Linked DNA regions of Homo sapiens: regions 1 and 3 are each linked to region 2. Evidence: promoter capture Hi-C in 16 types of primary human blood cells and fetal thymus (Javierre and others, 2016). All regions are on one chromosome and are shown on one strand. The core of a region is centred on a gene start or on the middle of the fragment in contact, and the rest is flanking DNA. Distances in the headings are between cores, read along the strand shown.

Region 1 (2,933 bases), core at 317-2,816, 260 kb before region 2:
GTGTCCTGCCCCGCCCGCCAAGCCACTGTTGGGCTGCCATCCCACTGCCTCCCCCGCCCGTGGGCAGCCAAGGTGTGCGGAACTGGGAGAATTGGGTCTGCTCAAAGCTCAGCTTGTCCTGCATGAGGCTGCATGCATCAGTGTCTGCCCCTTAACAATCAAATGGGGAACACTGCTCTGCTGTTGCTGTATATCTGGGAACACAGTGATTCTGGGCCTGCAAGGCTGGAAGTCCAACCCTGGGACTGGGTGGCCACAGCATGGTGGCACCACGCCATGGGAGCCATCTGGGCGGCCAACCAGCAGCTCTTGGGAACCAGTCCTTGACTGCCTGGGTGCAGCTTCCTGAAACCGCTCCACTGGCTCGTTCAGAGCCTGCCTGCAGAGGGCCAGTGATAAATCTCCCCACTCTTTTCTCATTGGCAACGCAGACAGGTCCTGGAAATGCCCAATTTCCAGGTTAAGAATCAGACCCCAGCTCTGGCAACGAGCAGCTTGATATCTCCCAGGGCCATTCCTGAGCCTCCCGGGAAACAGGCCAGCATGCCTGAGCATCCCCCGCCTGGAGAAGGAACAAAGACCCAGGACCAGCCAGCCTGGTCCCCCTCTTCTGGGGGACCCTCCCGAGTAGAGCAAGAGGGGAACCTGAGGGTCCTGGGGGCTGCCCCTTCAGAGTCACCCAGGAAGCTCTCCTGGAAGACCACAGTCTGTACACATGCATGCAGGGACACACACCCACACAGGGACAGGCCCTTTGCCTTGGGGTCTTCAGTGTCAAAGTGCTCATGAGCCCTGGGGATTAAACCGAAGACCTGCACACAGTGTGATCAAGAGATCAAACAGTGGGAAGACGCGGGAGGCTGAAGGGAGATGCTCCCTGTGAATACAGAGAAGCCCTCTTCACTCCAGCCCACCTGCAACTGCCCTCAGGCCTTGGGTCAGAATCCTGGCCCTGCCACTGACCAGCTTGGTCACTCTGTGCAATCTAATTCACCTCTGTTGCCTCAGTGACTTTATCTGTCAAGTGAGCTCTTAACAGTCTTGACCCCAAAAGGAGATGATGCAAATTACTTAGCCAAGGACCTCCCCAAAACCTGCTGGCTCTTATTAGCTGTTATCTTAAACCTGTGGGGTCCAGTTCTGGGCTTGCTTCCTCCAGGTAGCTCTCCCCAGCGTCCTGTGGCCCAAAGCACTTTTGCCTTCCTCTGAGCCATAAGCTTCCCTACTGCTCACCTGACCTCAGGGCTTCTGGGCTGCCTGGGCTTCCTCTGACTCCTGGTGGCTCCTGCACACAGTAGGTGCCACAGAGAACACAGCCCATGCTTAAATCCTGGCTGCGGCCCTTGCTGGCTGCACGGGTGTTTAGGTCAGAGACTTCCCTTCTCTGACCCCCTAGCTTCCTAGAAGGTGGTGTTGGCACCTACTCTGTAGGGTTGGTCTAAGGCAGATGAAGTGAGGGGGTGGCCCACAACCTGCACTTTTTGTCTGGCCAAAGCAACAGCCTGTCCAGAGATGGGGGCACGGACCAGGTCACCTCCAGAAAGCAAGAACTGTGCAGGCCAAGCTGGGTCATTGGTGGCTTGGCTTAGAATCGGGAAGATAAGCGGAAGCCCAGATGTGAGGAGATCTGGCAGCCCAGAGGGAAGCACCGGGTGGAAGCTAGGTAGGGAAACAGGGATGCGGGGGAAGGCAGAAACTGTCTGGTGGTTTCCAGAGAGGACAGGGACCAAGTGCGCAGCGTCAGCTCTGGCAGGCCACATAGACACCAGGAAACCAGCCCCAGGACGGGGGGTGTTGGCAGGAGGGACAGGGACTTCCCCGCCCCCTCCCTTGGGCCCTTGGTAAATGGTCATTGTGTTCAGTTTCCGGCAGTGGCCTCCTCTCCTGCCAGGATCCTGGTTTTCCTGACCCAGCCAGAAGCTTCCCCTTTGATTTCTAAATAGCAGTCGAGGTCTGGATCTCAGTGCTGAGGCTGGGCAAGGAGCGCCAGGGCCAGAGAGAGGGAAGACAAGACCCCCAGGCAGGGGTGGGGCTCAGCTCTGCCTCTCCCTCAGTTCCTCAGGGACGGAGAGAGGGAACCTGCACGGCCACTGTGAGCGCTCCGCCGGACCCTCCCAGCACACAAAGCCCGAGCTGCTGCCAGAGGTAATGAAAGCCAGATGAGCGCTGGGCTGGTGTCAGCCTCCCACCCCCACCCTCCCAGGGGTCCCTCTCCAGCCGCCAATGAGGACCAGAGCCCTGGATAGATGAGGGTTGAGGGAACACGTCTGGTCCGGCCATCTGCCAAGCTCAGGAGGAAAGGGTCTCTCAGGCGTGTGGTGTTCCCCCACCAAGAGCTCTGCCCAACACTGGGCGGAGAAACAAGTCGCATCCAGGCCCTGTCTAGGTACCGGGACACCAAGAGGCACGAGACTCAGGCTAACAATCGCCAGCAATCACAACGCGCCACAGTCTAAAGCCATGAAGCGACTGGAGACGCAGCAAGGCAACACGATGCCGCACGGGGACTCAGGAGGTTCACTGTGAAGGCTGCAGCCCAGCCAAAGCTCTGATGGGCCCTGAGCCCCCGATCCAGGAATGGCCTCTGTGCAGGCCCTGTGCCCAGGCAGAGCAGGGCGAGGGGGGCATCTCTGGATTCCACTCCCTCTGCTGTGTAGTCAGCAGCAGTCAGGTGGGAGGCAGATGGCACCACCCAGAGACCCAGGGCACACGAGAAACAAGCCCCCGCCCTCACCTAGTCACCCTCCCCTCCATCCATCACAGGTACACCACTCCCTTCTCTGAATCCTACCCAGTCCTTACCGATTCAGGGTGTTGGCACTCTTTCCAGTTAAGCAGAAACAAGTCTTGCCCGCCCTGGGCCTGGGCCACCCTCCTCCCCTCACCACCAGGACATCTGGTCCCACGTGTTGGAGGCCTGCTGCTCCACCCCA
Region 2 (2,700 bases), core at 1-2,500:
TTTTTTAAACCACACATATACAAGCCTTCCGATAAGTCTAGGCCTCAGAGTTTGATGACTCACTACCACCTCCAGAAAAATTTAAAAATTTAACCATCACTACTTAAAACTCTAGCAAAGCCACACGAACACATTAAGTAAACCGAGGAAAAAACGGCAAGTGGGCCACACAAGGCTCTCCCTGCGGGGATAAGGCTGTTAATTTGTCGACATAACGGGATTCTTTTAGAAGTAAAAGGCATAAATCTGCGTAACCACCACCACCTTTTGTTTTTGTTTTTTTGTTCTGTCAAGCTTAATCAAGAAAGAGGGAAGGGAGTTGTGTCCCTTCACTTTGTAGGATCGGATCCTGTCCACCCAGTTCCCGAATGCTCTCAACAGTTACCCAACCGCCTGTTTCAAAGGCTTCCCTGTTGCTCAGAATGCCACCTGGACACTTCTGGAAGGAGACTATCAGGGAGATAGGCTTCCCCTCCTCCCAGGCTGTGTACAGGTCCCCACTCAATCCAGCCCAGGGCAGAGTCCAAACGGGGAGGGAGACGCAGACAGGGTCAAAGGGACCCCAAGAGTCCAGCACATCTGGGAAAGAGAAAAGGAAAAGGTGCTGTGGCTTCCTGTAGCTGGGGCGCACGCCAGCGCGCCCCCTTTCCTCTGGGAGGACCCCCGGCCCCCGTTCGTCCCCGAGCTCCCAGCCCGCCTCCGGGAGCCCCAGTGAGAGGAAAAACGTGCGGGGACCCCCCAGCAGCTCCAAACGCCGAGGCGCTCCCCGCGAGCCTCAGACCCGACCCAACGCCAGGACTCGCGCCGCCGGCCCGGGAAGAAACCCCCACAGCCCGCGCCCCGGGCTGGCTGGAGGGTGGGGGCGGCTAGCCAGGCAGGGCGCCGAGGCCCGGGCTCCGGGAGCGGCCCAGCGGGCAGGGGAGACTGGGCCCGGAGGCCGGGTTTGGGGCTGTCCAGCCGGGACAGAGGGCCCGGGCGGGGGGGTCCCCCTGTGGGAACAAGGAGTCAGGGGGCGGCCCGGGCCTGGCGCCCTGCGCTGGGAGGCCGACTCCGGAGCGGCCCGGGCGGCCTGGGTCGGGACCGGGGCCGGGGGAGGAGCCCGCAGGCCGCACCTGGTCGGCGAAGTCCTCGGCCGTGCCCATCAGGTCGTTCTGGCCCATGGCGACGGCGGGAGGCTCGGCTCGGCTCGCTCGCTCGCTCGCTGGCTCTCGCCCGTCGGCGCCCGCACCCGCTGCGGCCTCCACAGGAAGTGCCCGGCGGCCGGCCTCGCTCCGCGTCGGCTGCGGCTCCAGCGGCTGCCACGTAGGCCAAGCCTTAAAGGGGCCGCGCGCCGCCCGGGCCCGCCCCGGTGCGTCTTAAAGGGGCCACGCGCCATCCCCAGCCTCCCGACCCATCCGCTCGAAGCCACGCCCGCCGCGCTCGACGCCACGCCTCTCACGCTGGAGGCCCCGCCCGCCGCGCGCAGGCCCTGCGGTCCCTCCCGGCCCGGCGGAACGCGTCCCTTTTAAGGGGGCGGGGACCTGGGGGTCTGGGGCCAGCGCGCGGGAGGGACGCCTGAGTGCCTCGAGGGCGCCGTTCGGGCGGGGAGGATCCCGCGGGTCCCACTGACCCACGCGGGGTGGGGCCAGGGGTGGACGCTCGCCCGTACGCGGTCGCTACTGATCATGCTTGGGCCAGGGTCCAATCGCAGGCGCCCCACGCAGGGGGAGCGAGGCCCAGGGTCCCCCGGAGAGCCCATGGAGAAGTACCAGGTGCCGAGTGTTCCCTGCGGGGAGGCGGGAGCTCCGTGGGGTAACGGTCGCAACCCTGGAGCTACGGCCGGCGGTTCCGACCGAGGGCGGCGAGGGGCCCGCGCCCTGGCCAGTGTCGGCCTGCAGCTCCTAGGTTGAACCCGGGGGGCCTCCAACGGTGACCTCCTGGGTGCCCTTTGCCACTCAGTTTCCCCCTTTGTGAATTGACTAAGGATTCTCCAGCCCTGGCTGAGTATTTGAGGGCGTGGGGCAGCTCCTCTATCCTTCGTGCCTGGGGTCTGTGCGCTTGGGTCCACCGAGGCAGGACCCCCGGGAACATCCCGAGTACATAATTGGGAGCCCCCAGTCCCCTAAAAACACCCCTGCAGCGTGGGTCTGTGAAAATGTTTGAGACCTAAAAAATTCACAAAACACAAAAGGAAAGCTGCAAAATAAAAGTAAATGTTTAATTAAATGCTTCTATACATGATATATACACTTTATTAAATGTTAGATTCAGCATTTGTGAAAAATGCATTCGCTTGGAAACAGTTTGCGGGTTAGATTTTTGTCACTTTGGAAGAATTGTCTTTGTGTGAGAGGACTATAGGGCGTTGCCAGAGGTGAAGCAGATGAGCTTCTGGTGGCCAGATAATTTTTAAAGTAAAGTTGTTTTTCAGATTAAAAAAAAATAGACGTTTCAGGAATATACCTGCTTTTGGAAAAAAAAATAGACTTGATTCGAGATACGGCTCCATTTTACTGTTTAATTTGCTGCCTAAGCTTGAACGCTCTCACACCAGCTCTGCCCTCAGCCCGCTGTGGCTTAGAACAGCAGTCCCTGGCCGGGCTCGGTGGCTCACGCCTGTAATCCCCAACACTTTGGGAGGCCAAGGCGGGCGGATCACCTGAGATCGGGAGTTCAAGACCAGCCTGACCAACATGGAGAAACTGTCTCTACTAAAAATAC
Region 3 (2,839 bases), core at 261-2,760, 350 kb before region 2:
GTCTGTTTTCTGCTGTTATAACAGAATATCCCAGACTGGGTAATTCCTACAGGAAAAACATTTGTTTCTTGTAGTTCTGGAAGCTGAGAAGTTCAAGGACACGGTGGCAGCATCTGCTAAGGGTCTTTGCATTCTTGCTGTGCCATAACATGGTGGAGGGCACATATGCAAGAGGGCAGGAGAGAGAGAGCCGGAGAGAGCTTGCCTCTATAACAAAGAGATAAGCAACTCACTCCCACAACAGCGACATTAATCCATGCATGAGGGCAGAGCCAACATTAATTTATTCATGAGGGCAGACAAATTAAGTTTCCAACACATGAAATTTGGGGGACATTTTCAAACCATAGCATATGCCCTGAATCCAGGCAGAGAAAGTGTCCCCTCAGTGCACAAATATTGTCACAGCTGCCTGCTCTGAATGCTGCAAGGTTTTGGAGAACGTTAAAGCTACTTCTTTTTTTTTTTTTTTTTTTTTTTTTGAGATGGAGTCTCACTCTGTCACTCAGGCTGGAGTGCAGTGGCATGATCTCTGCACACTGCAACCTCTGCCTCCTGGGATCAAGCGAGACTCCTGCCTCAGCCTCCCGAGTAGCTGAGATTACAGGCATGTGCTACCACATGTGGCTAATTTTTGTATTTTTAGTAGAGATGGGGTTTCACTATGTTGGCCAGGCTGGTCTCGAACTCCTGACCTCAAGTGATCCACCCGCCTTAGCCTCCCAAAGTGCTGGGATTACAGGCATGAGCCACCGCTCCCAGCCAAAGCTACTTTTTAACTGGGTTCCTGATCTTTCTTGGCCTGTCTCTGCTCCCAGCCTTGCCTTACTGCTCCTGCCTCTGACCTCCCGCTTTGGATCTCAGGCAGGACCAAGTCTAATCTCAAAAAGCTTGGTCTGATGCCCTGGGGTTGGTCCCTTGTCTTCCCCTCACACTCAGCCCCTCCTCACTTCCTGTGCACTAAGGGACACTCCTTGTCTGACAAGCCTTGATTTAGTGTCCCTATGACCATGCCCTGACCCGGGGCTCGATTGAAGGCTCAAATAAGACAAGTGGCCTCATTCAGTTGTTCAATAAATACTTCCTGAGCACCTGCTCGGTGCTCAGCCCCATGCAAAGCAGTGGTGACAGTGGGAAGACAGTGGTGAATAAGACAGACATGGTCCCTGTCTTCAGAAAGTTGCCACTCAAGTGGAGAAGTAAAAAAGAAAAAAAATAATAGTGCTTCCGGCTCCATGATGCAGTGGGTTTGGGGCCCCGGGCAGCGAGGATGGCACCAAACTAGTGTTTTGGGGTCAGGGAGGATTTACCAGGCAAATTGAAGTCTAAGGCAACAACCTAAAGGAGAGGAGTAGTTAGCCAGGTGGTGGGCCAGGGATGCTGGGGAGTCACTGGAGGCAGGGACAGACTGCGATCTCATTCTGGAAAGATCACTCTTGCTTCAGTAAGGAGGAAAAATACAGCAGACAAACTAGAGGGTCACTGGATTGCATGGTGGGCTCACTAAGGTTCCAGGTGGTTTGGAATCAGCTTTCCAAATTCAGAAACTCAATCTCAATACCCGGAGGTGGGAGTGCCATATTTAGCAAATTAAAAAATCACCTAGCTAAATATGAATCTCAGATAACACATATTTAGTATAAATATGCCCCAAATATTGCATGAATTCAAATTTAACTGTGTTCAATATTTTATTGGCCAACTCTACCAACAGTGACCAAGTCTTCATGACTGTCTTATGTGCACCAAACTCACAGGGATCTGATGTAAATACACCAATTTATTGATTTACAATTGCAGGCAAGGTTAAAATATACATGTTATTCAGTTTCTCCTTTCTGGAAAATGAAACAGTCAGAAGACTGGTGAACATGGAATGAGGACAAAAGGACACAAGGAAGTTTGAAAGGAAATTTCATCTCAAGGCATGGTAAATTCTGGAGAATCATCCTGGCCTCCCTACAGAGAATCCTCTTTGGTGGCAGAAAGTGCAGGTCCCCCCTGGAGAGGGCAGGTCAGGGACCACCGGGTCCTCGTGTGCAGCTCCCTGTGGAAACACGTGGTTCTTCTAGCTCAACCATCATCTGCTGGTGGTTGATTTCCCACTGTACTCTCAGGAGGTGTTCTTTCAAAGCTTTGGGGCTCCTGACCCAGCCTTCCAATTACAATACAATATATTTCACATTGAGGTTACACTTTAGAATGTATTCAGTGGGCTGAATTCATGTAGCTATTTATTCTGCCTTCTTAAACCCAAGGAGAGCAATCAGGTACTCTTCTGATTAAGAAATCACAGGCTGGGCACGGTGGCTCACGCCTGTAATCTCAGCATTTTGGGAGGCCGAGGTGGGCAGATCATGATGTCAGGAGATCGAGACCATCCTGGCCAACATGGTGAAACCCCATCTCTACTAAAAATACAAAAATTAGCTGGGCGTGGTGGCGCATGCCTATAATCCCAGCTACCCGGGAGTTTGAGGCAGGAGAATCGCTTATACCAGGGAGTCGGAGGTTGCAGTGAGCCGAGATTGTGCTACTGCATTCCAGCCTGGTGACAGAGTGAGGCTCTGTCTCAAAACAAACAAACAACAAAAAGAAATGACTTTAGGCAACATAGTGAGACCCCGTCGCCACACACACACAAATACAAAATTAGTCGGGTATGGTGGTGCACGCCTGTAGTCCCAACTACTCAGGAGGCTGAGGCAGGAGGATCACTTGAGCCCAGGAGTTCGGGGCTGCAGTGAGCCATGATCACACCACTACACTCCAGCCTGGGTGACAGAGGGAGATCGTGTCTTTCAAAAAAAAAAATCACTTCAGAAACGGGGTACCCATA

What was found. Contacts are between HindIII fragments. The CHiCAGO score rates a contact against its expected background, and 5 or more counts as called.
Region 1: a fragment that was not itself captured here is called in contact with the fragment with the promoter of SURF4 in region 2 in 2 of 17 cell types (activated CD4 T cells and naive CD8 T cells); the score reaches 6.4 in activated CD4 T cells.
Region 3: a fragment that was not itself captured here is called in contact with the fragment with the promoter of SURF4 in region 2 in 2 of 17 cell types (naive CD8 T cells and total CD8 T cells); the score reaches 5.7 in naive CD8 T cells.

Annotation. Positions count from the first base shown.
Region 1 is chr9:133,117,488-133,120,420 of GRCh38, forward strand. The region is part of intron 1 of RALGDS (ral guanine nucleotide dissociation stimulator); the gene reads right to left. Among named protein-coding and RNA genes, the nearest start is that of RALGDS, 2.3 kb to the right of the region's middle. RefSeq lists an enhancer at 2,657-2,933. The HindIII fragment of the contact is 703 bases long and covers 1,216-1,918 here.
Region 2 is chr9:133,374,810-133,377,509 of GRCh38, forward strand. It overlaps SURF4 (surfeit 4), which reads right to left and starts at 1,251. Exons shown (of 6, transcript NM_033161.4): 1 at 1,113-1,251. The coding sequence starts at 1,160. STKLD1 (serine/threonine kinase like domain containing 1) reads left to right here and starts at 1,557. Exons shown (of 18, transcript NM_153710.5): 1 at 1,557-1,751. The coding sequence starts at 1,665. RefSeq lists silencers at 676-955, 966-1,205, 1,296-1,795. The HindIII fragment of the contact is 2,219 bases long and covers 293-2,511 here.
Region 3 is chr9:133,026,385-133,029,223 of GRCh38, forward strand. LOC105376306 (a long non-coding RNA gene) reads right to left here. Exons shown (of 2, transcript NR_135119.1): 2 at 1,768-2,047. Among named protein-coding and RNA genes, the nearest start is that of GTF3C5, 3.2 kb to the right of the region's middle. The HindIII fragment of the contact is 1,244 bases long and covers 889-2,132 here.